Regions from separate parts of the Homo sapiens genome. Here region 2 is linked to region 1. The links are contacts of gene promoters, found by promoter capture Hi-C in human tissues and cell types (Jung and others, 2019). All regions are on one chromosome and are shown on one strand. Each heading gives the region's core, a stretch centred on a gene start or on the middle of the fragment in contact. The rest is flanking DNA. Distances are from core to core; before and after follow the strand shown.

Region 1 (3,552 bases), core at 936-3,435:
AACAGAGAGTACTATACAGCCTGTGACAATAAGTCACACACACAAATACCTACCATTTGTATAAATGATACCATTTATATAAAGTTCAAAAATATGAAAAGGTAAATATGTTGCTGTGGATATTTGCAGTGTGGCACTGGAGCTGGCTTGTACTGGCTTGGGAAGAACTGGCAAATGCCACAAAACAGCACACCACTGGGTACAGGCATATGGAGTAAAGCTCTAAAGAAAAGCAAGAGAATTACAAACAGGTAGGGAGGGGCACATCGGGGCAATATTCCTTCAACAAGGAATGTTCTAATGCTGCTCTTTTTCTTCCTAAGAAGAAAAAACAAATAGAAGTTAGCTGGGTTGAGGCGAGGGTCTGTGGTGGGTGGGGTGGGAGGTTCTGAGCAGAGGTAGCAGCAGAGGTGAATGAGGAGAGGGGATGGCTGGTTTGGGCAGTGGCAGGCACTGCAGTCCATTCTGACAAGCAGTGGGTGCGTGTAGGGCAGTGGTGAGAGCTCAGGTGGAAAGGGAGGCACCAGATCACAGAGGGCCTGTGTGCCATGGTAAGCAGTTTGGAGTTCACTCGAAGTAATGAGGAGTGTGGGCTTTGCAGAACAGAGACAAGGCAGGCAGGCCCGCGAGGAAGTTGTTGTGGTCTTGCTGAAAGATGAATCCAGAGCTGGGCCCTGATTATGAGGAGGAAGAGCAGAGGAGCTGGGCTTGAGAGGTTGTCTAGGAAGCAGAATGGACTGAGCTTGGTGACCAGTTGGATTTGGGATGTGCATGGAAAACAGGGCTCTGCTGTACTCAGAGAGGTGGAGCATAACTCCCTCACTGTAAGGGTGGGCCGCACAGTGACTGCCTTCCAAAGAGTGCAATACAGCAAGTGGGGAAGGAGGGCTGGCGCGGTGGCTCACGCCTGTAATCCCAACACTTTGGGAGGCTGAGGTGGGTGGATCACTTGAGGTCAGGAGTTTGAGACCAGCCTGGCCAACATGGTGAAACCCCGTCTCTAGTAAAAATAACAAAAATTAGCCGGGCATGGTGGCACATGCCTGTAATCTCAGCTACTTGGGAGGCTGAGGCAGGAGAATCGCTGGAACCCGGGAGGCAGAGGTTGCAGTGAGCTGAAATTGTGCCACTGCACTCCAGCCTGGGCGATGGAGTGAGACTCCATCTCAAAAAACAAAAACAAACAAACAAAAAGAAAAACACCAAACAAATTCCAATTGCAGGACATTCTACAAAACACCTGACCATTATTACTTAAACTGTCAAGGTCATCAAAAACATGGAAAGTCTGAGAAACTGTCACAGTCAGGAGGCACCAGAGGAGATGCAACAGCTAAGTGTAACGTGGCATCCTGGATGGGGTCCGGAACAGAAATAAGATATTAGGTTAAAACAACTAGTAAATCTGAATAAAATGTGGATTTTAGTTAATAATAATGTATCAATATTGGTCATTATTTGTGACAAATGTACCATACTAATGTAAGATGTTAATAATAGGGGAATGTGAATGCAGTGGCTCACACCTGTAATCCCAGCACTTTGGGAGGCCAAGCCGAGCCCAAGAGTTCAAGACCAGTCTGGGCAACATGGTGAAACCCCATCTCTACAAAACATACAAAAATTAGCCAGGCATGGTAGTGCACGCCTGTGTCTCAGCTACTTGGAAGGCTGAGGTGGAAGAATCCCTTGAGCCTGGGAGGTTGAGACTGCAGTGAGGTGTGATCCTGCCACTGCCCACCAGCCTGGGTGACAGAGTGAAGACCCTGTCTCAAAAACATGATAATGATAATAATAATAATAAAATAGGAGAATGTGGATGTGAGGTATATGGGAACTCTCTGTACTGTCTTCTCAACTTTTCTAAACTCTAAAACTGTTCTAAAATAAATGTATTTTTAAAAAATTAGCCAAATGCATTTCTTCTAAAACCTTTTTATTAAAACTAATTACTGCTCTCTTTAAAAACAAAAACAAAATAAAACAGAGCCCTGTGAGTCTTCAATTTCCGAGTTGAGTGACCTTTCACAGGGTCGCAGAATCAGCCCCAGCTCTCCCCCAGTCCTTTCACTGACTCCTCTCTGTGGCAGAGCTGAAATTTGTTTAGGGAAGTGGGACTACAACTCCCAGAGTGCACCTGTGCGGTTGTCAGGAGCAACCAAGGAAGCCAACTAACAGCCTTGCTAGAGTCTGAGGACTATCCAGGGCCTGACTGCCAGCTAGCCAGCCATGGGCCAGGATTATTACTCTGTGCTCGGGATCACTCGCAATTCAGAGGATGCCCAGATCAAGCAGGCGTAAGTTGGGGTGGGAGCCAGGCCTTAGGGGTGTGCTGGGGCAGGCCCTGCCCTCTTCTCTTCCAAAACGAGCTTTCCTGCACAGCTTAGCGCAGACAAGGTAAACCTTGTTCCTCCTTTCACTTCTTGCATACCTGTATCCTGGCTTTGGTCTGGGTCAGGGCCCAGGTTGGAAATTTGAACTCTTTAGTTCCTCAATCTGCTCCCAACCCATCTCCCTTTATGCTCCATGCCCTATATCCTCTCCTGGGTGCCTTGCTTTTCCCAGCAATGAAGTGGGGACAAAGGAGCCATTTGAACTTTATCTTGAATATTATGGAGAACCAGAGGCTTGTGAACAAGGGAGTGGCCAGGCCAGATGGATGTTTTAAATTCAATTCTGGCCATGATGGAGGTTTTCAGCATTGACTAAACTACATTCCTGAATACTTCCATCGGATCTTAAGGACGTTCTGGCTCGTTCCTAAGAAAGCCTACAACAGGAGTCAGTACATTTTTCTGAAAACATGTTTTTGTTTTTTGTTTTGAGACGGAGTCTTGGTCTTGTTGCCCAGGCTGGAGTGCAATGGCGTGATCTCGGCTCACCGCAACCTCCACCTCCTGGGTTCAAGCGATTCTTCTGCCTCAGCTTCCCAAGTAGCTGGGATTACAGGCATGCACCACCATGCCCAGCTAATTTTGTATTTTTAGTAGAGATGGGGTTTCTCCTTTTTGGTCAGGCTGGTCTCAAATTCCCGACCTCTGGTGATCCACCCGCCTCAGCCTTCCCAAGTGCTGGGATTATAGGTGTGAGTCACCGCACCTGGCCAAAAACATGTTTTTTTTTTTAACAAATATTTATTGAGCGTCTACCACAAGGGTTGAGAGGGTACTTCACTCCTGCTGCAGTGGTAGCAGCTGGAGATAAATGTCGGAATCCGACATCGACACTCCCTTACCTCATGCAGCTAGATTTTGTTGCTGAATAGATGTTGAATAAGTCACCACAACTGTGATGAGTGTTACAGAAGAGGAAGTATGGGGGGCTGTGGAAGTTATCTTGGAAGGAGAGAGACCCTTTAGGAGGCTGTTCGTGGTAATCAAGGCAAAAGATGAGGCCAGAGAAAGGGGAGGGAATGGACTTGGTAATTAAGTGGATCACTGGAGGGTGAAGAAAAGAGGAGTCCAGGATAACTCAATCAATTAAGTTAGGCAGTGACAATAGGTGTATGTTTTGAGTGTGTAGGTGCTGTTCTGAGAACTTTCCATCACTGTT
Region 2 (3,538 bases), core at 117-2,616, 160 kb after region 1:
CTCTAGTACTCAGAGGCCCTACCTCTTCTTCAAAGCCTTCCACCAACCCTGTCTGAGAGAATCAAAGGCTCCCTTTCTTGTGTTCCCACAGCAATTTTAATACAAAACATCTATTTTGGGCCCTAAAGCTTTATGTTATAGATAGCCATTTAAATGTTTCTCTCTCCTGCTAACTGTAAGATATGTAAGAACAGAGTCTGTATCTTAATTTTCTTTAGTCCCATACTTACTTACACAGTTCTTGGGATATAGCAGGGATTCAATATATTTCTGTAGATTAAATGATGCATATGAAAACACATCCCAAATCACAGTATTATGCAATTGTTGATTATTACCATCAGACACACTTTCCAAAAATGTCAAATTTAGCTTTCTCATGTTAGAGACATACCGCTTTTTTGCTGTAGTCACCTTAGGTGGTGGACCAGCATAGCTTTTTTTGCCAGGGGTCATCTGAGGACTATCTGGAGGAACTCCCATGGTTTCGATGATGATTCTGACTGAATGTGTTCTACCCAAAAGGGCCAGTCTATCCACACTTAGTGTCATCGTTTGGGCATCTTCTGGAGTTTCTGAGAGCATCTGTTGTTCAACCAAATTTCTGAAAGGAGTTCACACAAGCAGTGAGGCATACTGCTACAGGCTTCACATGAAACAATCTAGTTTGCACAGGCAAGATGAGGAAAAAGGGAGGGCAGCAAGTTTTTATTTTTTTATTTTTATTTTTGACACAGGGTGTTGCTCTGTCACCCAGGCTGGAGTGCAGTGGCACGATCATGGCTTACTGCAGCCTTGACCTCCTGGGCTCAAATGATCCTCCCACCTCAACTTCCCAAGTAGCTGGGACCACAAGCATGGGTCATCACACTTGGCTAATTTTTGTATTTTTTGTAGAGATGAGATATTACTATGTTGCCCAGGCTGGTCTTGAACTCCCGGACTCAAGCAATCCTCCTGCCTCAGCCTCCCAAAGTGCTGGGATTACAGGTGTGAACAACCACACCCAGCCAAGTATCTTGACTCACAAGTTATCAAGGATTGGAAACAGCTTTTATTATCAGAATTCTGGTCCTATAGTACAAGAAATCTCAAAAAATGTAAAAAAAAAATATAATCTAAAGGTTTGAGAGTGTATATTCAGGGTAATTTGAATCTATGCTCCCAGGTAAAAAAAAAATTTAAAAATACTATATAGATATATACACACACACACACACATACATACATATATATATACATACATATATATACACACACTTATACACACACAACATATATACACACACATACATTATACAATACATATGAGTACAGAAACTGAAACTCCAAATTTAGGTTTTTCTAGAAGGGACACAGACCTTATTTCAGTTACCCACTATTCTAATGTAACTACTATTGTCACTTTTGTGTATTCCTTCTCATTTGCTTTCCTTATGCATATTTTCTACACAGTTGTGATCACAGTACACATACAACCTAGAATTCTGCTTTCTTCCTTAACCATTTAAATTATACCTATCTTGGTAGAATCAAAAATATGAAAACGACCATACTGCCAAAAGCAATCTACAAATTCAGTGCAATTCCCATCAAAATACCCTCATCATTCTTCACAGAACTAGGAAAAAAAATGTTAAAATTCATATGGAACCAAAAAAGAGCCCACATAGCCAAAGCAAGATTAAGCAAAAAGAACAAATCTGGAGGCATCACATTACCTGACTTCAAACTATACTATAAGGCCACAGTCACCAAAACAGCATGGTATTGGTATAAAAATAGACACATAGACCAATGGAACAGAATAGAGAATCCAGAAATAAAGCCAAATACTTATAGCCAACTGATCTTCAACAAAGCAAACAAAAACATAAAGTGGTGAAAGGACACCCTATTCAACAAATGGTGCTGGGACAATTGGCAAGCCACATGTAGAAGAATGAAACTGGATGTTCATCTCTCACCTTATAAAACTATCGACTCAAGATGGATCAAGGACTTAAATCTAAGACCTCAAATCATAAAAATTCTAGAAGATAACAATGGAACAACCCTTCTAGACATGGTTTAGACAAAGACTTCATATCCAAGAACCCAAAAGCAAATGCAACAAAAACAAAGATAAATAGATGGGACTTAATTAAACTAAAAAGCTTCTGCACAGCAAAAGAAACAGTCGGCAGAGTAAACAGACAACCCACAGAATGGGAGAAAATCTTCACAATCTATACATCTGACAAAGGACTAATATCCAGAATCTATAAGGAATGCAAACAAATTAGCAAGAAAAAATCAAACAATCCCATCAAAAAGTGGTCTAAGGACATGAATAAACAATTCTCAAAAGAAGATATACAAATGGCCAACAAACGTATGAAAATATGCTCAACATCACTAATGATCAGGGAAATGCAAATCAAAACCACAATGCGATACCACTTTACTCCTGCAAGAATGGCCATAATAAAAAATTAAAAAAAAAAAGAATGTTGGTGAGGATGTGGTGAAAAGGGAACACTATTACACTGCTGGTGGGAATGTAAACTAGTACAACTACCATGGAAAACAGTGTGGACATTCCTTAAAGAACTAAAAGTAGAACTACCATTTGACCCAGCAATCCTACTTCTAGGTATCTACCCAGAGGAAAAGAAGTCACTATATGAAAAAGATACTTGTACTTGCATGCTTATAGCAGCACAATTTGCAATTGCAAAAATATGGAACCAGCCTAAATGCCCATCAATCAATGAATGGATAAAGAAATTGTGGTATACATATATGTGTGTATATATATACACACACACACGTATATATATACACACACATATATACGTGTGTGTATATATACACGTGTATATGTGTATATACACGTGTATATGTATATATACACACGTGTATATATACACACGTGTATGTATATATACATATACACGTGTATATACACATATACACGTATATATGTGTATATACACATATACACGTATATATACACATATACGTGTATATGTATATATACACATATATACGTGTATATGTATATATACGTGTGTGTGTATATATATATGAATATATATATATGAATATATATATGAATATATATATATGAATATATATATATGAATATATATATATGAATATATATATATGAATATATATATATGAATATATATATATGAATATATATATATGAATATATATATATGAATATATATATATGAATATATATATATGAATATATATATATGAGTGAGCTGTGATTGTGCCACTGCACTCCAGCCTGGGCAACATAGTGAGACCCCGTCTCAAAAAAAAAAAAGTAGTCTACCCAAATAATTAGGTGACATCGTCTAAGTCATTTGGCCTCAAATATATATATATATATATATATATATATATGGAATACTACTCAACTATAAAAAGGAAATGAAATAATGGCATTTGCAGCAACCTAGATGGAATTGGAGACCATTTTTCTAAGTGAAGTAACTCAGGAACAGAAAACCAAATATCATATGTTCTCACTCATAAGTGG

The links. Contacts are between HindIII fragments. The study calls those that stand out against the background at their distance.
Region 2: a fragment that was not itself captured here is called in contact with the fragment with the promoter of DNAJB13 in region 1 in 1 of the 25 tissues and cell types used here (aorta).

The regions. Positions count from the first base shown.
Region 1 is chr11:73,948,841-73,952,392 of GRCh38, forward strand. DNAJB13 (DnaJ heat shock protein family (Hsp40) member B13) reads left to right here and starts at 2,186. Exons shown (of 8, transcript NM_153614.4): 1 at 2,186-2,297. The coding sequence starts at 2,230. The HindIII fragment of the contact is 16,389 bases long and covers 1-3,552 here.
Region 2 is chr11:74,113,990-74,117,527 of GRCh38, forward strand. It overlaps C2CD3 (C2 domain containing 3 centriole elongation regulator), which reads right to left. Exons shown (of 33, transcript NM_001286577.2): 10 at 395-604. Among named protein-coding and RNA genes, the nearest start is that of C2CD3, 55 kb to the right of the region's middle. The HindIII fragment of the contact is 4,899 bases long and covers 1-3,538 here.